Regions from separate parts of the Homo sapiens genome. Here all the other regions are linked to region 6. Evidence: promoter capture Hi-C in human tissues and cell types (Jung and others, 2019). All regions are on one chromosome and are shown on one strand. The core of a region is centred on a gene start or on the middle of the fragment in contact, and the rest is flanking DNA. Distances in the headings are between cores, read along the strand shown. Region 1 overlaps LACTB (lactamase beta). Region 2 overlaps DAPK2 (death associated protein kinase 2). Region 3 overlaps DAPK2 (death associated protein kinase 2). Region 4 has its middle 10 kb from the start of MIR422A. Region 5 has its middle 27 kb from the start of MIR422A. Region 6 holds the start of FBXL22 (F-box and leucine rich repeat protein 22).

What was found. The method cuts DNA at HindIII sites, captures the fragments that hold promoters and counts their contacts. A contact is called where the count stands out against the background at its distance.
Region 1: a contact is called between a fragment that was not itself captured here and the fragment with the promoter of FBXL22 in region 6, in 1 of the 25 tissues and cell types used here (mesendoderm cells).
Region 2: a fragment that was not itself captured here is called in contact with the fragment with the promoter of FBXL22 in region 6 in 1 of the 25 tissues and cell types used here (mesendoderm cells).
Region 3: a contact is called between a fragment that was not itself captured here and the fragment with the promoter of FBXL22 in region 6, in 2 of the 25 tissues and cell types used here (dorsolateral prefrontal cortex and heart right ventricle).
Region 4: a contact is called between a fragment that was not itself captured here and the fragment with the promoter of FBXL22 in region 6, in 1 of the 25 tissues and cell types used here (H1 embryonic stem cells).
Region 5: a fragment that was not itself captured here is called in contact with the fragment with the promoter of FBXL22 in region 6 in 1 of the 25 tissues and cell types used here (bladder).

Annotation. Positions count from the first base shown.
Region 1 is chr15:63,124,794-63,127,958 of GRCh38, forward strand. LACTB (lactamase beta) reads left to right here. Exons shown (of 6, transcript NM_032857.5): 3 at 2,066-2,256; 4 at 2,560-2,896. Among named protein-coding and RNA genes, the nearest start is that of LACTB, 4.5 kb to the left of the region's middle. The HindIII fragment of the contact is 3,214 bases long and covers 1-3,040 here.
Region 2 is chr15:63,976,630-63,979,485 of GRCh38, forward strand. The region is part of intron 3 of DAPK2 (death associated protein kinase 2); the gene reads right to left. Among named protein-coding and RNA genes, the nearest start is that of DAPK2, 68 kb to the right of the region's middle. The HindIII fragment of the contact is 5,270 bases long and covers 1-2,856 here.
Region 3 is chr15:63,922,552-63,925,629 of GRCh38, forward strand. It overlaps DAPK2 (death associated protein kinase 2), which reads right to left. Exons shown (of 12, transcript NM_014326.5): 9 at 2,265-2,310. Among named protein-coding and RNA genes, the nearest start is that of MIR422A, 53 kb to the left of the region's middle. The HindIII fragment of the contact is 4,893 bases long and covers 1-3,078 here.
Region 4 is chr15:63,880,044-63,882,959 of GRCh38, forward strand. No RefSeq gene overlaps it. Among named protein-coding and RNA genes, the nearest start is that of MIR422A, 10 kb to the left of the region's middle. The HindIII fragment of the contact is 4,145 bases long and covers 1-2,916 here.
Region 5 is chr15:63,896,884-63,899,980 of GRCh38, forward strand. No RefSeq gene overlaps it. Among named protein-coding and RNA genes, the nearest start is that of MIR422A, 27 kb to the left of the region's middle. RefSeq lists an enhancer at 176-225. The HindIII fragment of the contact is 3,616 bases long and covers 1-3,097 here.
Region 6 is chr15:63,595,804-63,598,733 of GRCh38, forward strand. FBXL22 (F-box and leucine rich repeat protein 22) reads left to right here and starts at 1,584. Exons shown (of 2, transcript NM_001367807.1): 1 at 1,584-1,942. The coding sequence starts at 1,590. All of the region lies in intron 1 of USP3-AS1 (USP3 antisense RNA 1), which reads right to left. The HindIII fragment of the contact is 12,633 bases long and covers 1-2,930 here.

The DNA of each region.
Region 1 (3,165 bases), core at 184-2,683, 470 kb before region 6:
AACACAAAAAATTAGCCAGCCATGCTAGTGCGTGCCTGTAATCTCAGCTACTCGGGAGGCCAGGATACGAGAATCGCTTGAACTCGGGAGGCGGAGGTTTGCAGTGAGCCAAGATCGTTCACTGCACTCCAGCCTGGGCAACAGCGAGACTCTGTCTCAAAAAAAAAGAAAAAAAAATGTTTCATATGCCATTTAAAGGCAGTAAGTTGATGGGCGCAGTAGGGGTTTGAATTTGAAGAAAAATGGGCCAGTTGAGGTGGCGCACGCCTGTAATCCCAGCGCTTAGGGAGTCCAGGGAGGAAGGATGGCTGAAGACCAGAAGTTTGAGACCAGCTTAGGCACCATAGCGACACCTGTGTCTCTATAAAAAAAATTTTATTTATTTATTTTTTTTTTGGAGTTTCACTCTTGTTGCCCAGGCTGGAGTGCAATAGTGCGATCTCAGCTCACCACAACCTCCACCTCCCAGGTTCAAGTGATTCTCCTGCCTCGTCCTCCCGATTAGCTGGGATTACAGGCATGCACCACCACGCCTGGCTAATTTTTGTATTTTAAGTAGAGACGGGGATTCTCCATGTTGGTCAGGCTGGTCTCGAACTCCCGACCTCAGGTGATGCGCCTGCCTCGGCATCCCAAAGTGCTGGGATTACAGGCGTGAGCCACCGTGCCCAGCTTAAAATTTTTTAAAAAAGGAAAATGATTCTTCCTTCAAGTATAAGTATAATCTAATCATTATACCTAATTTATGATAAGTCTTGTAATCAAAAATTATATAAATGTCAGCTTTATGGACTTTATGCAAATATTTTTTAGATATTTAAGATTATACAAATTTATAGTCATTGTATTCCTTTTCTTTTCAGATCTCTGTTCTCTTTTTATTTATTTATTTATTTATTTTTTGGACAGGGTCTCTTACTGTGTCTCCCAGGCTGGCGTGCAGTGGTGTGATCTTGGCTCACTGCAATCTCAAACTCCTGGGCTCAGATGATTCTCCCACCTCAGCCTCCTGACTAGCTGAGACTACAGGTGCACTCCACCACGCCAGGCTTTTTTCTTTCTTTCTTTCTTTTTTTTTTTTGTATATTTTGTAGAGATGCGGTTTCTGCCATGTTGCTCAGGCTAGTCTCGAAATCCTGAGCTCAAGTAATCCACCCGTCTCCGCCTCCCAAAGTGCTGGGATTGCAGGCACTTTCTCTTTCTTAGTTAGATTTACGCACTTTCAGCCTGTGAGAACATGGAAACCAAATTTAAAATTTTTTCTAGAAAAAGCTTTAAGTTAGTACATAATTTTCCTCCTGGTTTGCAGTCGAATTAAATTGATGGTTAGCTAGATTTGGTTTGCAGGACATCTTTTCACACATTTTTGAGACAGTTTCACTTTGTCGCCCTGGCTGGAGTGCAGTGGCGTTTTCTCAGCTCACCGCAACCTCTGCCTCCAAGGTTCAAGCGATTCTCCTGCCTCAGCCTCCCGAGTAGCTGGGATTACAGGCACACGCCACCATGACTGGCCAATTTTTGTATTTTTAGTAGAGACGGGGTTTTACCATGTTGGCCAGGCTAGTCTTGAACTCCCAATCTCAGGTGATCTGCTCACCTTGGCCACCCAAAGTGCTCAGATTATAGGCATGAGTCACCATGCCCGGCCCACACTTACTTTTATTGAGTGGCTATTTCAAGGAATTCAGTGGAAATTTACTCAAAAGTCAAAAATAAATATAATCTGAAGAAGAATAATGATGTTTTCTTTAAAGAATACTTTATTTAAAATGTGGAATAACTCAGTTGTTTAGATAAGCTAAGAAAAATTTGTATCTAAGTCATAGAAAATTGCTATTGCAAACAGGGTACAATTTCACTTTAGTTATAAGGTTAAATTGTTAGGCTTACCGATATACTAAGATTTTAATCCTTTACATGTCCAGTGTTAAGTAACTTATAAAAGTGGAGTATCTTTTCTTTTAGATAAACACAGCATGTTTAAAGATAGTATTATTTCAGGGTTTGAAAACTTGTTTGACCATGAAGCCTGTTAATAGTGACTTTTTGCTTTTTTCCCCCAAAGGTTTAGGTTATGCTGATGTTGAGAACCGTGTACCATGTAAACCAGAGACAGTTATGCGAATTGCTAGCATCAGCAAAAGTCTCACCATGGTTGCTCTTGCCAAATTGTGGGAAGCAGGGAAACTGGATCTTGATATTCCAGTACAACATTATGTTCCCGAATTCCCAGAAAAAGAATATGAAGGTGAAAAGGTACTGAAACTCACAGTTCATTTTACTAATGGCATGTTAAATGGTTTATGCTGGAATTTATATTTAAAATGTTTCATAGGATTCTTTGGCTTGTTTTTAGTTATTGTTAATGTATTAGTTTTTCTTAATCCAGATGATAATCAGGTAGGTATTTTTCTGAAATTTGAGGCTAAGGATTTGTACATGACATTTTCCCAGCAGCAGTTCTAAGTGGAAAATATTACTGAGACATTATTCCGAGGCAACTAACTTTCTATTTTTCAGGTTAATATTGTAATTGAATTTTCATGTTTTTACAATTAGGTTTCTGTCACAACAAGATTACTGATTTCCCATTTAAGTGGAATTCGTCATTATGAAAAGGACATAAAAAAGGTGAAAGAAGAGAAAGCTTATAAAGCCTTGAAGATGATGAAAGAGAATGTTGCATTTGAGCAAGAAAAAGAAGGCAAAAGTAATGAAAAGAATGATTTTACTAAATTTAAAACAGAGCAGGAGAATGAAGCCAAATGCCGGAATTCAAAACCTGGCAAGAAAAAGAATGATTTTGAACAAGGCGAATTATATTTGAGAGAAAAGTTTGAAAATTCAATTGAATCCCTAAGATTATTTAAAAATGATCCTTTGTTCTTCAAACCTGGTGAGTGTTAATCCCTTCTCTTAACAAAATCATCATTACTGAAATGTTAATTTTCAGGAAATCCAAAATGATACCATCCGGAGTGCATTCATTGAGGTTGATGATTGTGATACGGACTAGTCTGGTGCTTGCGTTTTTGTCTGTAGTTTCTAACAAAGCCTAGCATCCAGGCAGCTTGTTTAAATTTTGCCTCATTGGAGACTACCCAGTCATTTAGAGGATTCTCAGTATCAAGATGTTCATGCAAACTTATGGAGAAATGTTGGAAT
Region 2 (2,856 bases), core at 335-2,834, 380 kb after region 6:
CTGAGGTCGAGGCTGTAGTGAGCCGTGATTGTGCCATTGCACCCTGGGCAACAGAGTGAGAATCGGTCTCAAAAACAAACAAACAAACAAAAAAACAGGTTGAGATGTGCTGTAAGTATAAAATTCACACTGGATTTTGAAGACTTAGTTTGAAAAATAGAATGTAAAATATCTCATTAATAATTTTAAATAAAAATATTATTAAAATCAATTCACCTATTTCTTTTTGTTTAGTCAGTGTGGCAACTAGGAAATTTAAAATTATGTATGTGGTTCACATTACATTTCTATTGGACAGCGCCAATAGGCAGGGTATCTCCTCTAGATCTAACTACTAGTTACAGGAAATACAGGGAACAGAGGAATGAGTTAAAGAACACCATGAGGAAGGAACAAGTCTAATCCAGACTGTGAAACAGGACAAGTGGCCTAGTTTTCCAACATATCAATGGCATCAAAAAAGAGGCAAAAAAAGAGAAGGGGAAGGGGGAAGGTGAAAGGGTGAAGAGAGACTGAGATAAGATGGCACATTTGAGCATATGTACCATCTGCCATAGCTGCAGCGCCCCTCTGCTCAGGGTTGAGTAGGGTGTGGCCTAAGGTGGCTGCCTTGGTGTTGGGGACCAGGCTGGTGCACTATTTTCTCAGTGTCTCATGGGTGAGGCCGTCCTTTGCCCCACTCTGACCCTTGCCCCCACCTTGGGCAGGTGCTGGAAGCTGGAGCACCCTCCCAGCTGCTGGAGTAACCCTGGGTCTGCTCTGCAGACTGGGGTCAAAGGGCCAAGATGATGGCTCCAATCCTTCAGCAGCAAAGATACAACCTTCACCTTGGGGTGGGACATGTGAGAGTTCTAGGGCTCAACTTTTCTTCTTGTGAAACAGGAGTGAAAAAAATAATGCTTTCATTACCAGCTTTGGATGTGAGGGTGGGAGTGAGAGGAATCTCTATGAGATTCTTGATAAAGTCCTTGACATAAACACCGTACATGGTGTCATCATCAGGGGTGGCAGTGGTGGAAGGGGGCTTGATTTAGAGTTTATTTGAAGTTTGCCACCGGTGCAATGTGCTTTCCCAAACATTTCCTCACTTGAGCTTGATATCCACCCGGAGGGCATCCTCATTCTCAGATGAGAAAACTGAGGTCTCAGGAGAGCAAGTGACTTGCCCAAGATCACACAGCTAGTAAGTGGCAGGACCAGGATTTAGACCCAGATTTTCTCAGCCCCAGTTCACCATGTGTCCCTCTCACCACAACCCTTCCACATTACAAAGCCTGAGGTGCTGATGCAAAATGGAAAGGCTCAAAGCAGCCCCAGGCACTGGGCAGTCCTCTGATATCCCTGCTCTGCTGCATCCACGCTCTCCTCACAGTGGGCTTCACTATCTATCTTCCTCTCTCCCCAGCTATATTATTTTTGCTTCCACAGCACCTAGTGCAAGAAAGACATTCAATCAGAAGTTTGGTGAATAAAAGAAGAAAGAAAGAAATAAAACATTAAAAATAACAACATGATGTAGAATATTCTGTATCATATAGACAGTGAAGCCTTGGTATTTGTGAAAGATCTGTCCAGAGCTCTCTGCAAATTTTCACATCTGCAGTGCCCCCTCTGAAACACACAGAACCCAGCTCCACCCTTAGTCTGCCAGCCCCTGCCAGGTTGTGTGGGCCTGTGACCTCGGGCAAATATCTAAATAAATAATAACCCTGCAATTCCTACTTTAAATAAAATGCTGCATCAGTGTAAAAGCTTCTTAGCTTAGCATTCCCAAAAGCCACTGACATGAAGTCTGGGGTTGAGGGAGGACTTTGGGGTGCAGTAATCAGTCATCTGTTTGAAGGTGAGATATGGGCAGGAGACCTGGTGAGACATGGTCTCCTTGGGATGAAGAAGGGAACAGCCACTGTGCCCCCTAGAATCTCCCCCAGAAACTCAGAAAGGTGGGAGGCTGATGACCTGCCACTGTCTAGGCCCTGGATACCCAGGCTGGGACATTCACATTAATGCTCAGTCACCTCTTTTCAAAGCCAAACCAAGGAGCCTGAGTGTCATTTCTTTACCCTCTAAGACCTCTGCCCTGGAGCCACCCCCCATCTCCTTCCAAGTTTCTTTCCTCTTACATCCCACATCTCTTTAGCTTTAAGATGAAAAACAAAGCCTCACGACCTGGCCTCATCTCTTCTCCTAGTGTTCCCAGGATCATCCCCTTCCTGCAAATCTGACCTTTGCCTCCTTCCTCCCTGCAGGGTGGCATGCCTGCTGGAAATGCTTTTCAGACTCTTCTGGAAATGTATACATGAATGACCTGCACAGGCAGCGATAGGGGAAAAATGCTGCCAGAGCTGCTGGGCCCAGGAAGCTGGGCTCAATTCAGGAACCTGGGAAGCATCACTGCCACCCTGGAGCACTCTGCCAGGCAGTTCTCTGGTATGCAACCACCACGGTATCGCTTTCCACAGGCTTGGAATCAAGGAGGCCCCAGAGCAGTCAGGGGCCTGTGATGGGAGGCCAGCCCAACCTTCACAGGGAGACTTACATTTTTCAGGGCTAGTTCCACATGTGACATGAGTTAAGCTGCTGAGATTTTGAATATATTCTATACCCCATACAGAAGTCAACTTATATGGACAATTAAATCCTTCCCAGTCCTGCCTTCAAGAGTCACGACCAGAGGCAGCTGCTTCTAGGGAGGTCACAGATGGGATAATAACAACTGAAAGGGATTTAGATCAGAGCCAGGCATGTCCTCCTAGTGCTGGCCACTTGAGCAGAAAGCAGGCGGAAGCCCTGCACCAGACAACAGTTGCTGAGAGGGGCAGTGGGATCAGCGTAGACTCATTCATAAAACCTGCA
Region 3 (3,078 bases), core at 182-2,681, 330 kb after region 6:
GGGGAGGTGCAGAATGAAGAATTAACTGGCACCTCAGCAATTCTGGATTCTGTGGAGGGGCTGGAAGGCTATACTACAGACACACACCCCTGCAGGATAATTCTAGCTGGAGGCCGCAGCAGGGTGGATGAGAACATGCTTCTGCAAACCTCTTGGGATGCATCACTGACTGGATTCTGGCGATTAGAGCTTCCAGCCTGCCAGAAATTCCTCAGTGCATGATCTGCTGAGCAGCTCTGACAGGGATTCACTGGTGTCCTGGTAGAATGTGGAGCCCAGGCCCTCAGAGCTCCCACTCTCCAGCTGGAAGCTGCCCACCAGCTCCTGAATCCACTGCAGGTCTGCGGAGAGCTCCTGCCTCAGAATCTCAAACTGGGCTTGCAGATGGTCCAGTTTCCTGGCCATGCTTCCGAGGCTACATCCCGTGGCCTGGATGTCTTCTCGCAGCAGCTTCTTCAATGACTCCACCTTGCGGAACTCATACCTGAGCTGGGACAGGTCATGCCGGGCGCTCTCATTCTCCTCTCGGTACCAAGCTTCCTTCTCATTGAAGATGGAGACCAGGGCCTCCACATCGTCCTGGATGGTATCGTGGGCCTCCACCAGGGCACGGCATCCCAGGTCGACCCGAGCCACGTCTTCCACCACACAGGCAAAACGCTCGAAGTTGACATAGGAGTTGTTGGGAGGCATGCTTGAGTGGCATTTGAGAGTGTACTCTCTCAGGTGCTTGGTCTTCAGCTGGGTGGGCTCTGTCTTCCGCTGTTCAGGGGCTCTGCCTTCTCCTTTTGACTGGTGGGTGTTCAGACAGAAGAATCAGAGTGTTAATTTGCCGCCCACCCCAGAGGGCAGTCCAAAGGGTAGGCAGAAGGCACACAAGCGGCCTCTGGCATTCACTGCATGCGTCAGGCCATGGGGAGAACCAGGGTGGGATGAGCACCTCCTTAGGCCATAAGTGAGGTCAAGGAGTGTGGGGGTGCTGTCTGCATGCTCATTCAGGGCAGAAGGGTCCACAGCCATTAGAGAGAGCTCCACACACATAGCATTTAAGGGGTGCTCACGCAGACAAGCAGGCTGCAGCCAGGACTCCGCAGGCATCTGCGCAGGGCTGGAGCACGCAAGGCCAGGGCTCACGCAGCAGGGCTGAGGAGCATCTCTCCTTCAGGGCTCCTTGGGCCTTCCCCATCCTTCAATGAGCTGATGAAGCTGAGCAGATAAAGCTGACCTCTTCCCAGACGACTCCAGCCCTCCCTGTTCTGTCTTCCACAGGCCTCACCTTCTCTTTGTATTGATTGATTGATTATTATTTTTTAGAGAGATGGGGTCTTGGCATGTTGCTCAAGTTGGTCTTGAACTCCTGGGCTCAAGTCATCCTTCTGCTGCCTCGGCCTCCCAAAGTGCTGGGATTACAGGCATGAGCCACTGCACCTGGCCTGCCTCACCTTTTCTTATCTCCACCTTTCTTATGGTCATTTCATCCTTGCTGGCCTTCTCACATAACAGTTAAGGTGAATGGGAAGTCTGGTGACGTCCCTGGGTGTGCATAGCTGGTCAGTCAGCAGAATTAGGGCCTGAATCCTGCTGAGTCTCACCCTCTCAAAGTGCTCTTCACCACACCAGACCACAAGAGCCTCTGGAAAGCCAGCAGCTGACTGGAAAGCCAGCAGGAAGCCCGACTGCAAGGCGAGTTAGGCAGGGATTCATTTTTTTGCCCTGACTCTCCCCAGAGGGAACAGAATTGCCCTAACAGTGGCTGTCTCTCTTCCCCACCAGGCCTCTGTCTCAGGCCCCATTCCTCAGGGCCTGAGGAGGTGGGTGGCTGATTTAAGTGTCATCCTTGACTTAGAGCCCCAAAAATCAGAAGGAAGGAGGCCTGGTCACAAAGTGGGGGTTTTCAATTGTCATCTATCTTTCTACACCTGGGGAGTCCTGATTTCCACTTGGAGAAGTGGCAGTGACATACCCTTCAACAAAGAACACTGTGTAAGTTGGCCCCAAAGAAAAAGGGTTTCAACTGTGGTTTGTGAGGGTTTCATTTCATAAGTTACCTGAATTTGAGACACACAAACTTAAAATAGCAAGCAAATAAACCTATTCGAATAAGCCCAGGCCCTCTGGGGCCCCTGGCTAGCTTTCATCTGTGCCCAGGGTCAGTGTTTAAAGCAAAGGCCTCTCCATGGGCCCTCTGCATCTGGCTGCCCAGGCCAACCCTGGCGACAGAGCAGGGACCCTTTGCCCATTGGAACTCATGGCTGTGCCCTTACCGTGATCCAGGGGTGTCTGAGAGCCTCTTGGATTGTGAGCCGTTTCCTGCAATGAGGATTGGGAAACAGTGATGATCCATGAGGACAGAAGTTGGGAGCAACCATCTCCGTTCTCACTCTTTTTAGACCTATATTTTGGCATTATTTGGCCACTGCCGTCAAACCAGTGGAATGGAGGATGCAGAGATGGATGGGAGCTGGCTGCAAATCCTGCACTCCAGGGGAAGGAAGCAGTCCAGACAGACCCCTCAATAGAGTGGCCTTGTTACCTACACCCATACTATTAGTCCCAAAGCTGAAAGGCCTAAGAAGAGTCATAAATGCTCCAATGAGCTTCCAGAATCTTCCAAAAGCCAACTCTCCATTGCTAAATCCCTGGTCTGTTTTTCTGTTTGCCTCCTGGATCCGTTCTCTGCCTTTCGCTGCTCTGTACCCAGGTAAGCAACTCTCCCTAGCACTGTTCTTAGACAGGAAAATCAGGGCCCTTGCACTCCAGACAACCCCACTCTGGCCCTCTCTGAAGTCTGTGGGATGGAGAGGACATGGTGTTCTAGTCTGTGGACCTTTCTTCCTGCCCCATCCAGAGCATGCTCTGGGTACCCAGCGCCCTGCAATTCCCTGCCTATTTCCTTCTTTGACCCCACAGCCACGGGACTCACCCTGGCCCCTGGAGAAGGGATAGGGTTAGCATGTCTTCCACCATCCCACTGTACTGACCTCTCTGAGCCTACCAGCTCCTACTCCCAACCTGAACTGGCTTGAAAACCCTGCCACTTAAACTTTTCAAATCTGAATTCCAGGTGCCTTTGGGACA
Region 4 (2,916 bases), core at 417-2,916, 280 kb after region 6:
CTAGTGTCCAAACTAATGCTTGGTGATGAGGACAGTGGCTGGTTGAGTCCATAGGGGACCTGCCAGGCACACCCTCCCTCAGGATTCTGGTTGCCAAGGCTGCCTCTTACTGAGGCCTGAGCACAATGCATTCACTCTCCCCTGGGCCAGGAGCAACTCTGCACAGGCAGGGGCGGGCTCCCTAGGGCCAGCCCCCAACCAGGCTCCAGGAATGCTGAGGGAGTACACCAAGAGAAGGCTAGCCTAGAGGCAGCTCCCAAGATGCTCATCCCAGGGACCCAGATCTCAACAGCTGTGCCCTCAGAGTCAGTAGGGACAAATGGACCTCTTCAGAGAGCTACCCTTGTGGGGCCTGGGCCCCCAACAGCACACCTGGGGACCCCAATCCTAGGCAAAACTTGAGAGGACACTGGGGGACCCAAGTAACAGCCTGTGAGGGTCCCTTGCCCAGTTGGGAAGCCTCACTCTACATTTTTCCTTCCTGTATATAATTCTTTCATCTCTAAATACCATCCACTGAGAGGCTTTTATTTCCTTAGTTTGTACAACCATTTAAGGATGGAGATTATGACTTCTTCAGCACAATCCAAGCACCTTAGCACAGAGCTGAGATGCACGGTATTTAGAAAATGGGTTAAGTTGAAAGGAAAGAAATCGAGTTGGATTCCTTGGGGGTTCTCAAAGGTACTTGGAAGTTCACAGAACCAAAATGAGCAAGGAGAGTTTCTACGTCTTGATGCACCTGCCAATACAGATTTCAGTACTTTATTTATTTATTTATTTATTAATCTATTTATTGAGACAGAGTCTTGTTCTGTCACCCAAGCTGGAGCACTGTGGTGCAAATATCACTCACTGTAGCCTTGACCTCGTGGGCTCTTGGGAACTTTCCAGTGAGACTTAGAAGGAAATGCCTCAGCTTTAGGGGAAATTCCCAAGAGAAACAGTTCAGTTAAACTACTTTCTACGGTCCGAGGCCATCGCATGGTCATGACTGGCTGTGAGGGAGATAGAGAAAGGTGAGACTTGGGTCCACATCTTGGAGCCCCCTGGGAAAGAGGATATTATTAACCTATATTAGAATTCTAGTGTGAATGAGTTCCCCTACTCATTTTTCCCAGAAGCTAAGGAGAGAGCTTAAGAGGTTACTTTTTTTTTTTTTTTTAGGCAGGGTCTCACTCTGATGCCCACACAGGAGGGCAGTGGCGTGGTCTCAGCTCACTGCAACCTCCGCCTGCCAGGCTCAAGTGATTCTCCCACCTCAGCCTCCCAAGTAGCTGGGATTACAGGCTGCCATGCCCAGCTAATTTCTGTATTTTTAGTAGGGACAGGGTTTCACCATGTTGACCAGGCTGGTCTCAAACTCCTGACCTCAAATGATCCACCTGCCTCAGCCTTCTAAAGTGCTGGGATTGCAGGCAGGAGCCACTGTGCCCGGCCCAGAGGTTACAATTTGAATTGCAGACGTGTGTGAAAAATCAGGCCTTGGTGATGACCTTGAGCCGCAGGATATAAATAACTCCCACCTGCTTAGCATTCCAATAATGGAACACTAGGCATAAGACCTTCTGGTGGGCAGGTACCCATCTGGGAGGCTGCAACAGATTGTGGTTTCAAACACTATTTCTTCCATTTGCCAGCTGAGTGATCTAAGACGAATAATCTGCCCCTTTGAGTCTCAGCTTCCTCATCCCCAAAGTGGGGAAGTGAAAAGTGCGAGGTTGTTTAGACACGGATGGAACTGCCTGAGTGAAGACACTTGGCATGCAATAGGTGCTGGGCCATCCTACTTGCCAGCCTGCTTTTGTAGGGCAAAGAGGTGTAGTACCTTTTCCTCACCCATTCCAAGGTCCATGGCCAATACCCCCATGACAAAAAACAGATTAACGAGAGAAAAGCATAACACATTTATTTAATCTAAGTTTTACGTGATGCGAGAGGCTTCAGAAATGAAGATCCAGAGACAAAGGGAAAACTGTGTATTTTTAAGCTTAGGTCCAATAAAGAACAGACAGCCATGTAGAAATGTGATTGGAAAGAGGGTGTGCTCTAATGGTGATAGACTGAAGGCAGAACACAGCAAGGCCTCTTGTTCAGCTTCTCTACGGCCTCTCTGTGTAGCGTTCTTTCCTTCCTGAGTAAGGGGCAGGACCCCTGTCGTATGAGGGTCTTCCAGGGAGATGGGAAGAGGTTAGAGAGTGACATTTCTAGGTTTCGTGGCTTGCACTGGGGAGAGGAGTTCTAGTTTCTATGACCTCTTTCAGGGGCAATACTGGGTAAGGAGAAAGGAGGGAAAGAAAAAGGAAGGCAGGAGAGGATCAGCAAGACTTGCTTTTGAGGCCCTTCCCATCCCTTCCAGTCCAAATAACTCAGAGTGCTAGAGTGCCATATTTTGGGATATTGTGTTCTGAGCCCCAATATTTGCTTGGGTTTTTTTTTTTTGTCCCTCCCTTCCTTCCTTTCTTCCTTCCTCCCTTCCTTCCTCCCTCCCTCAGGCCTGGCAGGCTGAGGAGGCTGCCCCTGCCATAGCTGCTCCACAGCAAGGCCTAGAGAGTAGCCACTGCACCAAGAGCCTTGGGCCAAGCTCTGAGCACCCTGGCTAATACCAAAGCTGGAGCCTAGAGCAGGGTTCCCAGAAGGTTATCTGGGGCTGGCTTTGACCACATTGGCTACAGCATGGCCTGTGGGTAGACATGCTCTGAACAGCTGAGGCTGACCTGAACGTTGGCATCATCAGCAGAATCATCTTCACCAAGCAGGGTTTGAACTTGAGGTCAGTGACCCCAGGCAGTGTGGGGAGAGGGTTCTTCACCTGGCTGTGCCCCATGGATGGACAGCTAGGACTATACTCTGGGCCCTGCCCTATAGCTCAAGAAACATCCTTTACCCAGAGGAGGCAGAGACATCCCAACTGGT
Region 5 (3,097 bases), core at 458-2,957, 300 kb after region 6:
TCTGAAAGAATGCAGGGTCAGCCAGCCTGGCTGAAATTTCCCCTCCGTGGGTGTGAAAGGCGATATGTCCAACTGTGAACACACAGGGCCCACATCCTTATGACTCAGCAGATGCGGCTGTCCTCAACCACATCGCCCAGAATGTCACTCTGACCTGCCTCAGAGGTCTGACAGCAGAATAGATTCTGCAAAGCCTGGGCCCAGGAGGCGCTTTCTCCATGAGTCCTTTTGGACAACACACATTCACCCAGACACACACTCAGATGCACACACACACACACAGACACATCCACTACAGAGACAGATGTGCACACACTGATACCCAAACGTACCCCAAACGCAGACACGCGGACATGCACAGACACCCAACACACACATGCACACACAGGCCCCCGGACAGTCAGATACACACACAAAGACATCCACACACACAAACACCCAGACACATCCACACACGTCCACACACCCCACAGAGACATGTCCACAACGGGTGCCTAGGTATGCCCAGAAACACACAGTTACCCGAATACAGCCAGACACACACACACACACACACACACACACACACACACACACACACACAGACTCCTCCAGAGGACTCAGGAAGAATCAGATCTGTCCCGTATGCCTGACCTTGAATGCCTCTGCCAACCCCAACAGATGGCCACTGGCTCTCCGACAGGGCCCTCTGGTCTCTGACCAAGAACCAGGGTCACAATGGACAGAGAAGGGGAAAATGGTAGAACTACTAATTCACCACCGTGCAGTTAACCCGCAGAAGTCTCATTCTTTCATTTAATTGGTAGCTTTCCAAAGTTCAGCCACGAGAAGGCGTAAGGACAAGCAATCAGAATACTAACCCATAACTTCCTGTCCCTTCTCTTAGCACCCATCCTTTAAGGCCAAATTAAAGTCCACCTTGTTCATATAGTCCTCCAGATTCCCAGAGTTAGAAACCGCAGCTTCTCCCATGCGCCCCTCATGTCATGCTTCTTGGTCTCTTTTTTTTTTTGAGATGGAGTTTCACTATTGTTTCCCAGGCTGGAGTGCAATGGTGCCATGTTGGCTCACTGCAACCTCTGCCTCCCGGGTTCAAGCGAGTCACCTGCCTCAGCTTCCCAAGTAGCTGGGATTACAGTGCCCACCAGCATGCCCAGCTAATTTTTGTATTTTTATTAGAAACAGGGTTTCACCATATTGGCCAGGCTGGTCTCGAACTCCCGACCTCAGGTGATCCACCTGCCTCAGCCTCCCAAAGTGATGGGATTACAGGTGTGAGCCACCGCGCCTGGCCCACCATTGATTTTTTTTTTTAAAGACGAATTGAGTACCAACTGCTCTGTTCACAGCTTTCTTTTCCTTTTTGTCTTTCTTTAAGAGACAGGTCTCACTGCAGTGACTATTCACAGATACAATCATAGTTTGCAATGTAGCCTCCAACTCCTGGACCCAAGCAGTCCTCTCGCCTCAGCCTCCCAAGTGGCTGGGACTACAGGTGCACCACTGTCCCCAGCTGACAGCTTTAAGGTGAGTGCAGTGGCTGTGTCAGTCCATGCCTGCCAAAGGAATCAGTGGAGACAAAAAGAAGGAGCAAATTCAAACTTTCCTCCTTTTGCCCTCTCTCCTATGTGGGTTCAGATTCTTCAGGAAGCAGATGCCAAGATGGGATGAGAAGTGCTGGAGACCTGGGGTGTGGGATGAGGAACGCCTATGAAGGATGAAGGGGAAAGGAAGCAGGAGTAGGCAAGGGAGAGCTTTCAGGCCATGATGTAGGTGTGACACCTAAGGAAGGAGGGTGGGAAGGAAGGAGGGCTGGCTAGGAAGTGCCTCTGATGGCAGAGCAACCCAGAGAAGGGCTCAGCCAGGTGATGAGCAGTCCAGGGGCAAATATTAGAAGGGTCCCATGCTGGGCAGGAATGGCCTGGTTCGAGTACCCGCCGCGTGTCTCCCATCCCACCATGCTCAATCACTGGCCAAAAGCAGCCTACGGAGAGTGAAGACCTTGTGGCTACTCTGAGAATGCTCTGAGAATACCTGGGCTGGGATTTTTATTCCCCTTTTAAGGAGAAGGGGTAGAATATACCCCTGCCCCTCCCAGCCCTGCCTCCTCAAACATCGCCTCCTCTTGGAGTTTGAGTAAGGACGTGGGTCTGAGGACAACTTCCAAGGCCAACTGGGCTGAGTTTGCCAGCTCATGCTCCAGGTGCCTTCATGTCTCTTTGGACTTAAACCTACAGGCTAGAACAGTATTTGAAAAGTCAGCTGGCACTTAGCAAACTAATACAACACCCTGAAGGGGTGGCAGCTGGGGGCCAGCAGTGAATAGCACTCTTTGCTGCGGGTTCTCTCTTGAAGGCACTTCCGGGGCTGCCACACTTCTTATCTCCTTCCCTCCTTCCTTCATTCCCTCCTTCATTCCCTCCCACCCCACCTTTCCTCCTCAGATCTTCATACCATCTGCCAGGCACCAGCACACTGTGGAGCCCCATAAATGAACTGACACAGTCCTTCCCTTCAAAGAGCTCCCATCCAGAGCTTCCTCTTGCACCCACAGACGGGAAGCTTGCACGACCTTCCGTCAGGCTGCCCGGCCCTTCCGGACAGATCTTCCAAGCACCTCCACCACCCTCTGTCTTGCCAGCCAGCCCAGAGACAAACACTCAGTGCCTGCTCACAGGGGCAAAGTGTGTAAATAAGTGAAGCAGCCAAAACAATGAAACTCTTTGGCTATTTGAAGTATATTTCTAAGTTTCAATGGCAACATAATTCTTCCCAGCTTTTTCTTCTTTTTTTTTTCTTCTTTTCGAGACAGAGTTTCGCTTTTCTTGCCCAGGCTGGAGTGCAGTGGTGCAATCTCAGCTCCCTGCAACCTCTACCTCCCAAGTTCAAGTGATTCTTCTGCTTCAGCCTCCTGAGTAGCTGGAATGACAGGCGCCCGCCACCATGCCTGGATAATTTTTGTATTTTTAGTAGAGACAGGATTTCACCATGTTGGCCAGGCTGGTCTCGAACTTCTGACCCCAGGTGATCTGTTCACCTCAGCCTCCCAAAATGCTGGGATTACAGGCGTGAGCCACTGTGCCCGGCCTTCCCAGCT
Region 6 (2,930 bases), core at 334-2,833:
TTTTTAAGAGAACCCCCTACTGTACTTCATCTTGGCATGGTGGAGTAATGGAGGCACAGGGGCACCAGCTGAGGCTGGCTTCTCAGGAAAGCCACTGACAATGGCTACTTCCTTCTTTGCTTGACTGCCTTCTGCTTTAAAGGCAAAGCTGCACCAGCCCTGACCAAACCTTAGTTCCAGAAGTGGGTTCAGCATAGGCTGCTTCATTTGTGTCTATGGGAAAACACAAGGATTCCCATTCCCTCTTATTCCAAATGGGAGAACAAACAGAAGTAACCACTGAGGTGGTGGTCCCTGGGCTGGCAGAGGAAAAACCATTCTCTTCTCACTATTGCCTAGGCAGAACGTGGCCTATACAGCTGCACCATATCAGCATCCCCCAAGCAAACCAAAAAACAACGACTGGGATTCAAAGCAGGAGAGTTAAGGTTGGGTCCTGGGTTTGGGAGTGAAGCAGCATGAGGAAACGGGTCTGCCATATCGTGAAGCCTCGGGTACTCAGGAAGGGGGAGCTTCACGGATAGTACCTCCAGGCACCTTGCCTAGAGTTGAGTCAGAGAGGGCAGGGGTGGCCCACTGGCTTCTCCAAGAGGGAACGGAGGGCACTCATAGAATGGATGGTGTGTGGTCAACTTAAAGGCAAAGATGGACTAAAATACTGAACTTAAAATTGTTTCAAGCAGTTTCACATTAAGAGCTACCTCATCCATCCTGACATTTTGGGAAGTACAGGTTATACATAGTACAAGGCCTTATCAGTGAGAAAATGTAAAGCCAAGTAAATTTAAATTTAAAACACAGAAAGTACTGCTTGACCAAAACTACAAAAACAACAACAACAACAACAAAGCACCAATAAAACATAAAACACAGACACACAACTTTGGAAAGCAGCTACTTCAGTAAAATTCTTTTATGAAACAACTCAGGGTAAAAATCTAGCTGTTGGGGAGGCCCAGGAAAATCCCCCTGCCTAGTGGCAGGCAGCAGGGCTTGAAGGCCAACCAGCCTAGCCTGGAGACAATTACTCTATGGCACAAAAATAACAGGAATGAGGCAGCAGCCATGGACTCTGCTCACAACTCACAACCGTCACCCTTAGCTCTCCACACGCAACAGGTTTCTTCCTAGTAAGGGTGGAGCAAAAGATTCACACTGATGTACTAGAAAATCAAAACAGTTAACATTTACAATTACACTCCTTCCCCCTAAGTACAGACTGCAAAGCCAGACAGAGCTGGCCTGGCCGCCACCACTGCCAATGAAAACGCCTTGGGAAAAGCCAAAAGTGCTCACTGCTAAACACCATTGTCAGCTAAAGGGAAAAAAAAAATCCCTTTTAAGGAAAGTAACTTCAATAGGCTCCTTTTCTGCCAGGACCTCCAATCCCTCTGAACATAAGCCGAACCACAGACTGCCGCACATGTGTCTGGGTCCTGGCTTTTCTTCCCTCACCCCTCCGCAGAGCTTCAGCACCAGTTGTTAGCCAAAAATAAACACCATTCCTCAACCATATATGTCCACCGGCCCAGAGTCGGGGAGGAGGAGAGGAGGCAGGTCAGCCGTCCCCCGGCTGCAGCTGCACTCACATGTGGCCACTGCTCACCATGCACATAACCCAGCTCAACCGGGAGTGCCTGCTGCACCTCTTCTCCTTCCTAGACAAGGACAGCAGGAAGAGCCTTGCCAGGACCTGCTCCCAGCTCCACGACGTGTTTGAGGACCCCGCACTCTGGTCCCTGCTGCACTTCCGTTCCCTCACTGAACTCCAGAAGGACAACTTCCTCCTGGGCCCGGCACTCCGCAGCCTCTCCATCTGCTGGCACTCCAGCCGCGTGCAGGTGTGCAGCATTGAGGACTGGCTCAAGAGTGCCTTCCAGAGAAGCATCTGCAGCCGGCACGAGAGCCTGGTCAATGATTTCCTCCTCCGGGTGTGCGACAGGTAGGCCACCTTGCCTCCTGAGCAGTGCTGGCCCCGCTAGCTCTGGCTTCCCTCTTGGGGGGCAGGGAAGAGCAAATTACGAGACCAAGATGGCTCCACCTTCGGGGCGCCTCAAACTAGGCCCAAGGCAGACATCCAGACCGCCCAAAGCAGGGTCCCCAGGAGACAATAAAATCATGAGGGAAACAATTGCTAATCCTCCTCTTAGCCTCACAGGTCCTGGGCTGCTTCATGCAAACACCAAGAAGTGGGGCCTCCGTACTGGTAGTCATTAAGTGCTGGGTGGGTCCAGCTGGGCCTGGATTTTCAAGGTCAGGCTCTGGGAAAAGGCTTCCAGATGCAGCAATCAGCTCACCCCTCCATTAGGCCTAGCAAGCAGCCCTCAAGGCCTGGGAAACTACGGAGGAAAGAGAGGGTGGGGAGCCAGAGGTGGAGAAGCCAGGGTGCTCAGGTCAGCTGAGCCAAACCAGACTCCAGGAGTAGATGAATTACTGATTTACACAGTATTCCTAAGGAGGGTGGCTTAGCCTAATTTTTCAAATTAGCAAACTGATGCTCCACGAGGTGGTATGATTTGCCCAGTCTAGGGTTGCCAGATTTTAGCAAATATATAGGCTGCCCAGTTAAATATGAATTTCAGATAAACAGTGAATAATATTTTAGTGTAAGTATGTCCCAAATACATCTTGTGTTTATCTGCTAACCCCCACCCCAGACACAGACATAGACACTGAACCACCAGGCCAGGCTCCCTCCATGGTCCCAGCCTCATGGGCAGAGCGGCCCAGGCAAGAACACAGAGCTATTCAACCAGCCTCTCACTGAGCTTCTGCCAGTCCCGTGCTGCCTTTGAGGAAAAACACCCCCTTGATCATATAACAAACTGGCCCTGGCTGTTCATGGAAAACTAGACTCAGCCAGTTTACTGCCACCCAAGTTCATAGCTGCTATTTGCTGGCAGCACGACAGGAGTGGAAGGAAACAGCGT